Regions from separate parts of the Homo sapiens genome. Here region 2 is linked to region 1. The links are contacts of gene promoters, found by promoter capture Hi-C in human tissues and cell types (Jung and others, 2019). All regions are on one chromosome and are shown on one strand. Each heading gives the region's core, a stretch centred on a gene start or on the middle of the fragment in contact. The rest is flanking DNA. Distances are from core to core; before and after follow the strand shown. Region 1 holds the start of FAM50B (family with sequence similarity 50 member B). Region 2 overlaps SLC22A23 (solute carrier family 22 member 23).

Evidence for each region. The method cuts DNA at HindIII sites, captures the fragments that hold promoters and counts their contacts. A contact is called where the count stands out against the background at its distance.
Region 2: a contact is called between a fragment that was not itself captured here and the fragment with the promoter of FAM50B in region 1, in 1 of the 25 tissues and cell types used here (aorta).

The regions. Positions count from the first base shown.
Region 1 is chr6:3,844,890-3,851,070 of GRCh38, forward strand. It overlaps FAM50B (family with sequence similarity 50 member B), which reads left to right and starts at 4,484. Exons shown (of 2, transcript NM_012135.3): 1 at 4,484-4,597; 2 at 4,900-6,181. The coding sequence starts at 4,923. The coding sequence ends at 5,900. It overlaps LOC107986557 (a long non-coding RNA gene), which reads right to left and starts at 4,477. Exons shown (of 3, transcript XR_001743931.2): 1 at 4,427-4,477; 2 at 3,500-3,760; 3 at 1-1,203. RefSeq lists a silencer at 4,158-4,277 and an enhancer at 4,548-4,667. The HindIII fragment of the contact is 6,203 bases long and covers 653-6,181 here.
Region 2 is chr6:3,353,981-3,360,161 of GRCh38, forward strand. The region is part of intron 3 of SLC22A23 (solute carrier family 22 member 23); the gene reads right to left. Among named protein-coding and RNA genes, the nearest start is that of PSMG4, 98 kb to the left of the region's middle. RefSeq lists an enhancer at 2,163-3,053. The HindIII fragment of the contact is 4,734 bases long and covers 698-5,431 here.

The DNA.
Region 1 (6,181 bases), core at 3,234-5,733:
TATTTACATTTCTTTTCAAACTTTTCTGTAATATGCCTATTTCCTCCTTTATGACAAAACCTATTGGAAAAACAAACCATAATGTCTCAATCAGGGAAGAATAACTAGAACAATCATTCTTTTTTGTTCTATTTATTCTTCTTTCTTAAAGTTTCACCATTTGCGTGGGCTCGGGTCCTCAGCCTCATTTTGCTGATAAAATTTAAGAGCTTAAAGCAGTAGCTTTTAGTTTTGTGGGTATTTTCGCTGAGAATTAAGGCTGAAAGAGGAAGTTATCATCTTGGAACTTAGGGGAAAATTCTACAGAACAGTATATCAGACTTTTAGGATAAATCTCCTTCTTTCTAGTTGTTTTTCTTGTTAAACTTTTCTGAGAATTTGAGGCTCAACCTTTTAATTCTGGGAGCTGGCTATAGTATTTGGAGGCCGTGACTGAGTTCAGGAGGTGGATGCTGGATAATGGGAGGGTGGATGATAAGGTTTAGGGATGATATTGACATTCAAGTTCTGATTCGATTAGAGAAAGAGTGAATATAGTATTTGTGGCCAAACGATAGTCGATTGAATTAAAGTTTAGTTGGTTGGATCATTTAACTGAAAAAAAGAGGTGGAGAGGCTATCTTATTTATGTTAAGTGTAATAAAGGTAATTATATGGGAAACCTGAGAGAGGAGACTATTGGTAATTTTGTCCATCTGTGGGTGGTGATGGTGATGGTGGGTGCTCCAGGCTTCCTCTTGGAGATGACATTTGTGCTGATCTTCAGGGATAGCACAGCGAAGGGCAGGACTTTCTAGAAAGAGTACGTCCAGAGGTAACAGTTATGAAAGGGCAACTTTTTTTTTAGATGAAGTCTTTCTGGGTCACCAGGCTGGAGTGCAGTGGTGCGATCTTGGCTCACTGCAACCTCCATCTCCTGGGTTGAAGCAATTCTTCTGCCTCAGCCTCCCGAGCAGCTGGGACTACAAGGCATGCACCACCACACCCAGCTAATTTTTTTTATTTTTATTTTTATTAGAGACGGGGTTTCACCATGTTGGCCAGGATGGTCTCGATCTCTTGACCTCGTGATCCACCCGCCTCGGCCTCCCAAAGTGCTGGGATTACAGGTGTGAGCCACTGCGCCTGGCCTGAAAGGGCATCTTCTATTCAGGCGCAGTGAAAAAGCTGGGTGAATGCTGCAGGGGTCCACCTATTAGAGACCTTAGAGGACAAACAAAGAGATTCTGATGTGGCTGTTACAAGGGAAGTTGGAGTTTTTCAAGTAGGAGAGTAATGTTATCAGATTCATTTTTTATGAAGATCTCTGAGGATATTGTATAGAAGTTAGACAAGAACAAGAATACAGGCATACCTCGGAGATACTGTGGGTTCAGTTCCAGACCACCACAAAGACAGTCACACAAATTTTTAAATTTTCTAGTGCATATAAAAGTTATGTTTATACTATACTATAGTCTAGTAAGTGTGCAGTAGCATTTTGTCTAAGAAAATAATGTGCATAATTTCATTAAAAATACTTAATTGCTAAATAATGCTAATGATCCTCTGAGCATTCAGTGAGCTGTGCTCTATTTGCTGGTGGAGGGTCTTGCCTCAGTGTTGATGGTTGCTGACTGATCAGGGTGGTGGTTGCCAAAGGCTGGGCCTGTGGCAGTTTCTTAAATCAATATTGAGTTTGTCACATTGATTGATTCTACCTTTCACGAAAGATTTCTTTGTAACATGTAATGCTGTTTGAATCAACTTCTTCCAAACTTCTGTTAATGTTGATATTTTACCTCCTCCCAAAAACTGTGAATGTCCTTCATGGCACCTACAGTGGTGAATGCCTTCCAGAAAAATTTCAATTTACTTTGCCCAGATCCATCAGAGAAATCATTACATACAGCAGCTATAACCTTTGGAAATGTATTTCTTAAATAATAAGACTTAAAAGTCAAAATTACTCCTTGATCTATGGGTTGCAGAATGGATGTTGTGTTAGCAAGCATGAAATCAACTTTAATCTCCTTGAGCATCTCCATCAAGCTCTTAGGTGACCAAGTGCATTGTTAATGAGTAATAATATCTTGAAAGGAATAATCAGAGCAGTAAGTCTCAACACTGGGCTTAAAAATATTCAGTAAACCATGCTGTAAACAGATGTGCTGTCCTCCAGGTTTTGTTGTTCCATTTACAGAGCACAGGCACAGTAGATTTAGCATAATTTTTAAGGGCACTAAGATTTTCAGAATGGTAAGTGAGCATTGGCTTCAACTGAAAGTCTCCAGCTACACTAGCCCCTAGCAAGAGAGTCAACCTGTCCTTTGAAGCCATGAAGCCAGGCATTGACTTCTCCTCTCTAGATATAAAAGTCCTAAATGGCATCTTCTTCCAATAGAAGGCTATTTTGTCTACATTGAAAATGTATTGTTTAGGGTAGCCTCCGTCATCAGTGCTCTTAGCTAGATCTTCTGGATAACCTGCTGCAGCTTCTCCATCACACTTGCTGCTTCACCTTGCACTTTATGTTATAGAGGTGACTTCCTTCCTCAGCCTCATGAACCAACCTCTGCTACCTTCAGACTTTTCTTCTGAAGCTTCCTCACCTCTCTCAGCTTCACAGAATTGAAGAGACTTAGGGCCTTGCCCTGGATTAGGCTTTGGTTTAAGGGAATGTCGTGGCTGGTTTGATCTTCTATCCAGACCACTAGAACTTTCTCCATATAAGCAATAAGGCTGTTTTGCTTTCTTATCATTCATATGTTTACCAGGAAAGCGCTTTCAGTTTCATTCAAGATTTTTTTCCTTTGCATTCACAACTTAGCTAACTGTTTGGCAAAAGAGGCCTAGCTTTTGGCCTATCCTGGCTTTTGACATACTTTCCTCACTGAGCTGAATCATTTCTAGCCTTTGATTTAAAGTGAGAGACGTGTGACACTTCTTTTCACTTGAACACTTAGAGGCCATTGTAGGGTTATTAATTGGCCTAATTTCAATATTGCTGTGTCTCAGGCACTAGGGAAGCCTAGGGACAGGAAGAGAGATGAAGGAACAGCCAGTCAGTGGAGCAGTCAGAACATACATAACATTTATCAGTTAAATCAATAAACGTCTTTGTCTTCTACTGCACACTTCGGAGTGCCCCCAAACAATTACAATAACCTCACAGAACGATGATCACAGATCACCATAGCAGATATCACAATGAAAAAGTCTGAAATATTGCAAGAATTACCAAAATGTGACACAGGAACACGAAGTGAGCACATGCTGCTGGAAAAATGGAGCCAGTAGGCGCTTGACGCTGTGTTGCCACAAATCTTCAATTTGTAAAAACAAAAACAAAACACACAGTATCCCAGAGCTCAATAAAATAAGATATTCTTGTATTCTGGTGATGGGGCAACAATGAGAAGGCTTTAGATTAAAAAAAATGCTAATTTCCTAGATTAAGGCAAGTGGTGGGGAATGGGAGAAAAAGGAAAGTGTGAAAGGCTCTTCTGTAATTGATTACCTGTGGAGGAACGTCATTCCAGGAAAAGGCCTAGGTTTCTGGCTTGGACAATTTGATGAGGGCTCACACCGTGCTGTTCTCCTCTGGATATGTGGGTGCCATATGTAATTATCATATGATTCACGCTTCTTGGTAAGGTTATGCTCACAGGCATTGTTGCTCTTAGGCGGGAGGAGGCTGAACCGCAGTATGTATTTCACAACCAGCTTTTCCAAACTAGGTCCCAGGAAGCACTGGTTTCGGCGAGTGTTACCAGATCTCCTGCAGGGGAGAAACGGTCACGAAACATGAACTGGTCTGCCCTGCTCTTGGAGAGTTACAGTGGAAACTGGCATGTTAGAGGCTCACAGTAAAGACACTGCTACACTTTAACTCAGTGTCCCATGGTTATTAGAGCTTAGAACCCGGGGGAAACTGCTGTATAGAAGAGGTCAAACAAGCTGAGTGCAGGTTTTGTCACGAAACTGGGGGGCGAGTAGGGTTCTATTATCAAAGAATGGTTGTGTTGGGGCCATAAGAAAGAATTACAGGCAGTGGTGCGCAGGTAATGTTCACGAGACGCCACAGCGGGGTAGCATCAGAGGCGGGAGGAGGAGGGTTGGAGAGCAGGGCCGTGTTGCAAGGCTCTCTGGGTGGCCACAGCAGCTTGCGCTGCGCCCACATTGCTTCTGCGTGTTTACAGTTGGGCACGAGAAGGCTCAGCACGCACGCACAGCAGGTGGGGGCCCGCCCTGCCCACAGCGTGAAAACAGGAGCCCCGGCCAGCCACGGCTGGGCAGGGCCAGAAGCGCCTCCTCCAGGATCCTCCCCGCGCTGGCCCGCCCCACAGGAGCACCGCCCCTACCAGGAGCCCGGAGCTCTTCCCAGGGCCCGCCTCCCCGCCAGGGGGCGATCCACCTCCACTTCCTGTTTCCGCAGCCGCCCTACCAGGAGCCTGGCACTCTCCTCAGGGCCCGCCTCCCCGCCAGGGGGCGCACCGCCTCCACTTCCTGTGTCCACGGCTGTCGCGAGAGCCCGGGGCGAGTGGGCCTCTGCTCGTGGGTGGTTCTCGTGGAGGTCAGCTCCCGCGTGTCTCCGCTCGACAGGGTGCTTGGGCAGGTAAGGGTCCGCTCAGTAGCCCAACCCTCTCTGTATGCAGCTCCCCAAATTCAGCGCTGCGCTCAGGCATGGCAGCCACCCGTTACGTGGGGCCGTTCGCATTTGCATTTATTGAGGTCAAATAAAATGCTGGAAATTGGTGCCTGGTGACACTGTCAGGTTGGTGGTTACCCTAGCAGGTCGGCCCAGCCCCTGAACGCTTCCATCACTGCCGAAAGCCCTGTGAGGAGGCGCAGAGCTGAGCATTCCCCGCCGTTGCGTGGGCCCCCCTCTACCTGCCGCGTTTTTCCTCTTTGCTGCAGAGCCCATCGGGTAGGCGCGGGCCATGGCGCAGTACAAGGGCACCATGCGCGAGGCAGGCCGTGCCATGCACCTCCTCAAGAAGCGCGAAAGGCAGCGGGAGCAGATGGAGGTGCTGAAGCAGCGCATCGCCGAGGAGACCATCCTCAAGTCGCAGGTGGACAAGAGGTTCTCGGCGCATTACGACGCCGTGGAGGCCGAGCTGAAGTCCAGCACGGTGGGCCTGGTGACCCTGAACGACATGAAGGCCCGGCAGGAGGCCCTGGTCAGGGAGCGCGAGCGGCAGCTGGCCAAGCGCCAGCACCTGGAGGAGCAGCGGCTGCAGCAGGAGCGGCAGCGGGAGCAGGAGCAGCGGCGCGAGCGCAAGCGTAAGATCTCCTGCCTGTCCTTTGCACTAGACGACCTCGATGACCAGGCCGACGCGGCCGAGGCCAGGCGCGCCGGAAACCTGGGCAAGAACCCCGACGTGGACACCAGCTTCCTGCCAGACCGCGACCGCGAGGAGGAGGAGAACCGGCTCCGAGAGGAGCTGCGCCAAGAGTGGGAGGCGCAGCGCGAGAAAGTGAAGGACGAGGAGATGGAGGTCACCTTCAGCTACTGGGACGGCTCGGGCCACCGGCGCACGGTGCGGGTGCGCAAGGGCAACACGGTGCAGCAGTTCCTGAAGAAGGCGCTGCAGGGGCTGCGCAAGGACTTCCTGGAGCTGCGCTCCGCCGGCGTGGAGCAGCTCATGTTCATCAAGGAGGACCTCATCCTGCCGCACTACCACACCTTCTACGACTTCATCATCGCCAGGGCGAGGGGCAAGAGCGGGCCGCTCTTCAGCTTCGATGTGCACGATGACGTGCGCCTGCTCAGCGACGCCACCATGGAGAAGGACGAGTCGCACGCGGGCAAGGTGGTGCTGCGCAGCTGGTACGAGAAGAACAAGCACATCTTCCCCGCCAGCCGCTGGGAGGCCTATGACCCCGAGAAGAAGTGGGACAAGTACACCATCCGCTAACACCCGCCTGCCAGAGCGGAAACCGGGGGTGGGGGGAGACACTCATTTCTAGGCCCCATCACCAGTCACTTGATTTCGTGACCTTGATTTCTTCCCCCAAATTTAATAAAGACAGAGGGTTCTCATGATTCACATTGGTTGTGCTATTGCTGATGTTATGCTTTGGTTGCTTGGTTGGTCTTTTCTGAGTATTTTAGTGTTGCCACCTGGATTTGCTGCATTGCTCTGCTGAGCTGTATTGAAACCATGACTGGGCCCACTGTCAGACAGAAATTAGAATA
Region 2 (6,181 bases), core at 1,815-4,314, 490 kb before region 1:
AAGGAAAAATGCTGGTCCTTGGGTCGGTTGACTGAATCCTTTGATGTGACAGGTAGCTAAGCCACTTATCTGGACCCATAAACCTCCTTGGCAGGCCTGATTGGATTGTGGAAATTTCGATGGTGATCACATGTGTTTTCTCCTTAGAGTTGGCATGGCCAAGACAAGAGCCACATGCAACTTCTAAGCAAAACACACACACAGGCTCACACAAACACATAGCATGGTGCACTCCCAACGGAGAGGCAGTCAGGGCATTGGATGGGCAAAGACACTCCTTTCAGGACCCTTCAAAGGTAAATTCAACAGGAAGTGCACATTTACGGAGGAGCAAGTGACTAAAGGCACTCACAGACTTTTCCTTCTCTTGACTTGTGTACCTTTACATCTTTACATGAGGTGGGTTGGGTAAACAAAAGAAAATCTCAAGAAGATTCAGATTCTCTTTCCATGTCCCTGCTGCATTTAATAAGTTCCTCGATTGTAGTGACCACTGTACTGTGGTCAGATCCATCGATATAGCAGAGACTCTGTGCCTCAAAGGCAAGGCAATGTCTTTCCATCCTCAAGAGACCCAGCATCCAGCAGGCACTCAAGAAAGGATGGGTGAACCATTTATTAGTGGGTAAAGCAATGGATGAACTGAAACACAGTCTGTTTTTAGTTGATGTCCCAGTAAGAGTGTTAGGGGGAAGTCAAGGTGTTGGAGGGGTTGCTCTAGATTTCAATGATCCACACCATCTCTAATTTCTTACTAATTAATCAAATAGTGAATGTCTAACAAATGGGGAAGGTACTATGCTGGGCCAAGTAGCCATGTAATGGGTTTCTGAATCTCATAATTCAACATCATCTTCTTCAACTGACACTTGTCTTTCCAGGTCAATTAAGCAGGCAGCCTCATTAGTTCATGGGTAGACAACACGCAGAACAGACAAAGCAGGACCTGAGGGCCAGAGGGTGACAGTATCTAACTCTGCCCCTAAAAGCACAAGGCATTTGGACAATTTGTGCTACACTCTTTCCTTTAAACAGGCAACAGGAAAAACAATAAAAGATATTCCTACTACCGAGTTTATAAAAACACAAACAAAAAAAACCAGCGCCTCTCCACATGGCAGTATTCAAATCCTTATCTTTGGGCTCCTACCCTCTATCTGCTTGGAAACAGCTCCCTGTCTTTGTGGCCGCCACCCTCCCCAGCTAAAAAAAAAAAAGTCTCCCTCCAAATACTATCCAGTAGCTCTTCAAATAAAATGGGATGAATAGAGAGGCCTTGATAACCACCAGTTTTCTCATCTTCAAACTGGAAATCAGAAATAATATCAGTAAAGACATCGACTTATTAGGTACAGTGAGAAGCCTTTGAACTTAAAAGACGGGAGGAAGACAAGCATGCTGCTCGTGGGTTCGTCACACCCTGTTCTATGCAACAAAGCAACCCTCCCTGGGTCGAGAAAAAAAATCTCCATGATGATCTCTTAGAAATATAAATGTATTTATAGATAGATATTTTCCCTCTTACCATGTGTATAAGAGAACAGGACGTTGCTGGGCAGAGGGAAGTTATTGTGTGAAGGCCAAGGTCATAACAAGGTTACCGTTCTCATGAGTCTGGGCTAGGTCTGGGCCCTCCCGCCCCGCTCCCTGTATCAGCCCCACTCCCAGGCTCCAGAGCTAGGCCACTTGATGCCTGGTCAGTCCTTTCTGTGCCTTCCCAAATTTACTCTCAATTTCTGGCTCATCTACTATTCTCATTTGCTATTTCTTAAGTTCTGGGCCACGGGAGCCCAAGGTCTCACTCAGCCCTGCACAAACCCCAGCTCTCAAAGCCGGCGTCGCTCTCACTCATTCCCTGTCTCCGCATCGACACGGAGGAGCCACTGGATATAACGCTGAGGTATTAAAAAAAGAAGGAAGTTCAGAAAAACAAACACAGTACGACAGCATTTGTAGGAAGTTTTTTTTTAAAGGCAAAACTGTACAACGCAGTGTTCTAGATGTGGGAAAACCTAACGAAACTCATGAGGATGAAAAACAGCAAACGGGGTGGGGAGACTTGTGGACAGGGGAGGGGGAGGAGGCGGGGGGCGCGGGAGGGGGAGGAGGCGGGAGGAGGCGGGGGTGGGTGGAGGCGGGAGGGTGGGACTTATTAATGAGGCTTGTTTCCGAGTCCGGGTAGCAGATACACGTGACATCAGAAACATCTCATAATCACGAAAGAAATCGAAGCACGCGTGCTCTCTCGGGAGGGCCCTCCTTCTGCGTGCCAGCCCTTGGGATCTGGACTTCTGGCTCCTGGAAACATTCAAAAGGAAACCGGTGGGCCATGGAACCGCTGACAGGATTGGATGGTAAAACAGTGTCTTAGATCCACCCTCGGTGCCTACAAGGGTAACAGGCCACACCCCCATCTCAGAGATGGCAGCGACCTCATCCAAGGGGCAGGGGAAGCCTCAGAGGAGTGATTTTAGCAGCCTCTCACTTCCTCATTTGCCTGTGAAAATAAAGCTGACCCTAAACTTACCGGCTCTGCACTACCCTCCCGCTGGCTGCTTCATTGTCCTGGGCAAATCTTCAGCCCCAGAGACAGTAGTGTTTATTTTAGAACCAAACCCGCTGGCCAGGACACCATCCACGTGAAACATTTCTTCCTAAGCCTGAAGCTTTGTTGTAACCCTGTTGTCTTCCTCCTTATTGGCTCAGCAGTGAGATGGGCTGGCTTGAACCTCCAGGTCTTGAAACCTGCCCAAGATACCAACAACCACCTGTAATAAGGTGCAGGATCCCGCTCAAGCCCTTCAGAGCATCTGTGGATGTGTTACCTCATATGCCCTCACCAAATCCTATAAATAAGAATATCAAGTAGTATCCCCATTTCCAAGATGGGAAATGGCCCCTTCAAAGGTCAGGTCACCGACACTGTGATGCAGGTGGTGTCTCTAGGAGAGGCGCAGGCTTCTAGATCCCAACTGTCGTGGTTTGTTCTAAAGGCTGCAGCAGCCTGGACCATAAAGACAATTTTAAAGCAGTAAACCTAGCAATACAGCCTGGAAGAGAAAACCAAAACAGAGCCAAAAAAAAAAAAAAAAAAAAAAAAAAAACCCAAAACAAGGCAGGCACTGTAATGAAATGCTCACATTTACTCCAGTGCCCACATCTGCATTCCCAGAGTCTCAGAAATCCAGCAGGATTCCAATGCCATGGAAATATGTATCATTGTTTTTGCCAAACAAACTCCCTTACCTTAAGCAAAGGTCAAGTACACTGTAAAACTCCCAGTGCAAACAACCAGCTGGAGGACTTATCCCAGCCTCTGTAAAGTCTTTGCTAATAATTATCCAGACAGCTTTCCTAATTTTTATTTTTAAATGGGGTTGTGGCTCAGCAATAGTGTAAGGATTAATCGCCTTATCAATTAGCATGAGGAAAGGACTGCAAATACAAAGTAGGTGTGTTCTTCCTGGCTTTCTACCTGCTCAATTAGGCTCAGGTCTTAAATGATTTCCAAAATTGGACTACATCTACTGTGTTTACTTCATTCTAAATATCAAAAAGATATCTAAAAGCTTATCATAAAAAAATTTAGAATTTCCCTTTTTGGTTACCAGCCTAAAAGCTCCTTAGTTTAGGGACTGTGTTCTTATTCAACAAGCCATGCCCAGCTCCTGGTTCACAGAACACACTGAATAATGACAAATAATGGAAAACAGAAGGCGGCTGTGTATAATGAATGCATTTCATTCACTTATTCAGCAAGGAGGATGAGGTAGCACCATGCCAGGGGAGATGCCGAGATGAAGCCACACCACCGGCCTCAAGGGGCTCACAGTCTGATGAAGAGACACGTGCCTATAAGACACAGATGGGGTTCTGTGCTACAGGAATGCAAAGAAAGGGACGAGGCCTGGGGAAGACTTCACCAAAGAAGCAGCATTTGAATCTTCCCTTAAGGGAAAAGGAAGTAGGACTGTCCTGCCATGTGGGTGAGGGGAAGGGAAGAGGCCTGGGAGGAGAGTTTTCAGAGAGGCAACCAGCTCTTGCAAAGGCGGCCAGTGCAGAAGAGGCTAGACAGGTTAGGTTCTCAGTATCAAAGTCCCCAGGATGGAGAGAAATTGGAACCTTTAAACACTGTTGGTAGGGATGCAAAAATGGTGCAGCCATTATGGAAAACAGTATGGCAGTTCCTCAAAAAACTAAAACTAGAACTGCCATATGATCCAGTGATTCTACTTCCAGGTACTTATCCAAAAGAATTGAAATTAGGATCTCAAAGCACTTGACGTGAGCGCTCCCACGTTCACTGCAGTGTTATCCACAACAGCCAAGATATGGAAACAACGCAGAGGTCCACTGATAGGTGAAGGGACACACGAAACACAGTGAAAAATACAATAGAATATGATTCCGCTTAAGAACGAATGAAATTCTGACACGTACGACACGTGGATGAACTTGGAGGAATTATGTTAAGTGAAATAAGCCAGTCACAGAAGGACAAATACTACATGATTCCACTTACATGAGGCATGTAAAAATAGGCAAATTCAGAAAATCAAAGAGTGGGCTGATGGTTGCCGGGGGTAGAGGGAGGGAGACATGGGGAGTTGCTCGTCAACTAGCATCAGCTTTCAGGCAGGCGAGATGAATAAGCTCTGGAACTCTGCTGCACACATTGTGTCTATAGTTCACGATACTGTGCTGTACACTGAAAAAACCTGTTAAGAGGGTGGGTCTCATGTTAGATGTTCTTACCACAAATAAAATTAAAAAATAAAATAAAAAAGGCCCCAGGAGAGTTTCTGTTTCATCAACCCAAGGAAAACACCGGAAGGAGTCACAGCTCCAGTGAGGAAGAAGTGAGAAGGGATCTGCCATCGGGGGCTGGAGGGATGGTGGGAACCTTTGCCATTTCAAAGGGAAGCCCTGGCTCCCCTCGGGCACAGCATCCTGGGTGGGGTCTGCACCCCGAGCTGCCACCCATTGCATTTCCATGTCAGCGCCATGTCAGGTGCGCTGTGCCGATGTCTAATCAAGTCTCAGTCATTCAGGATGAAGAGAGAATAGGGAATTCAAAATACATAACTGCAAAAATGAAAGCTCCTTTATTAATTTAGTGCAATACAGAGACGTCCCAGAACAACACGGGCTGCATCCAGAATCACAGATCATTTCAACTAAGAAAAAGATGGGCACCGAGAAGGAGAGCGAGGAACATGCCAGCTGAGACTCATTTCATTCTAGGACAGTACTAGAATGAGCATCTCACTGGGAATTCACCGCCCTCAGGCAGATAACAGATGCTGCTAAGCTATGCTAGCTGGTGTTGCCACGTTTATTCTTCATCACTGAGTGGTTCTCCTTAGGTCACACATATAACTATCCATCTGAGTGCAAGTTTAAAACAAAACAAAAACTGAAGAGGACATACAGATGGCCAAGAAGCACATGGAAAGATGCTCAACGTCACTGTCATCGGGGAAATGTACATCACAGCGACAATGTGGTAGCCCTTCACATCCATCAGGATGGTAGCTGCTGTCAAACAAACAGGAAATAACAAGTGCTGACAAGAATGTGGGGAAACTGGAACCCTGGTGCACCAGTACATTCCTGGTGGGAATGTACAACGGTGCAGCCAACTGGAGAAAACAATATCCCTGTTCTTCATAGAATTAAACAGAGGATTACCATCTGACTCAGCAATGCCACTTTTGGGTATAACCCCCCAAAAGTGAAAGCAAGGACCTGAAATGATATTTGCACACCTATGTTCACGGCAGCATATTCACAACAGCCAAAAGGTGGGAGCAACGCAGGTGTCCATCAACAGATGAATGGATAAGAAAATGTGATCCATCCAGAGGATGAAATATAACTCAGCCTTAAAAAGGGAGGCCATATCCAACATATGCTATAGTATAAAGGAAGCATTTTTTCTTTTTTTCTTATTTTCACTTATTTTTGTCCTTAGAGGTCCTTGTTCTGAGGGAATCCTGAAGACATTATGCTAAGTGAAGTAAGCCAGTCACAAAAGGACAAATATTGCATGATCCACTTAAATAGGTTCTTAGGTAGGCAAATTCATAGAAACAGAAAGTAGAAGGGTGGCTGCTCGGGACTAAGGGATGGGAATGGGGAGTGTTTATTGGGGACAGAGTTTGTTTGGGAAGATGAAAAG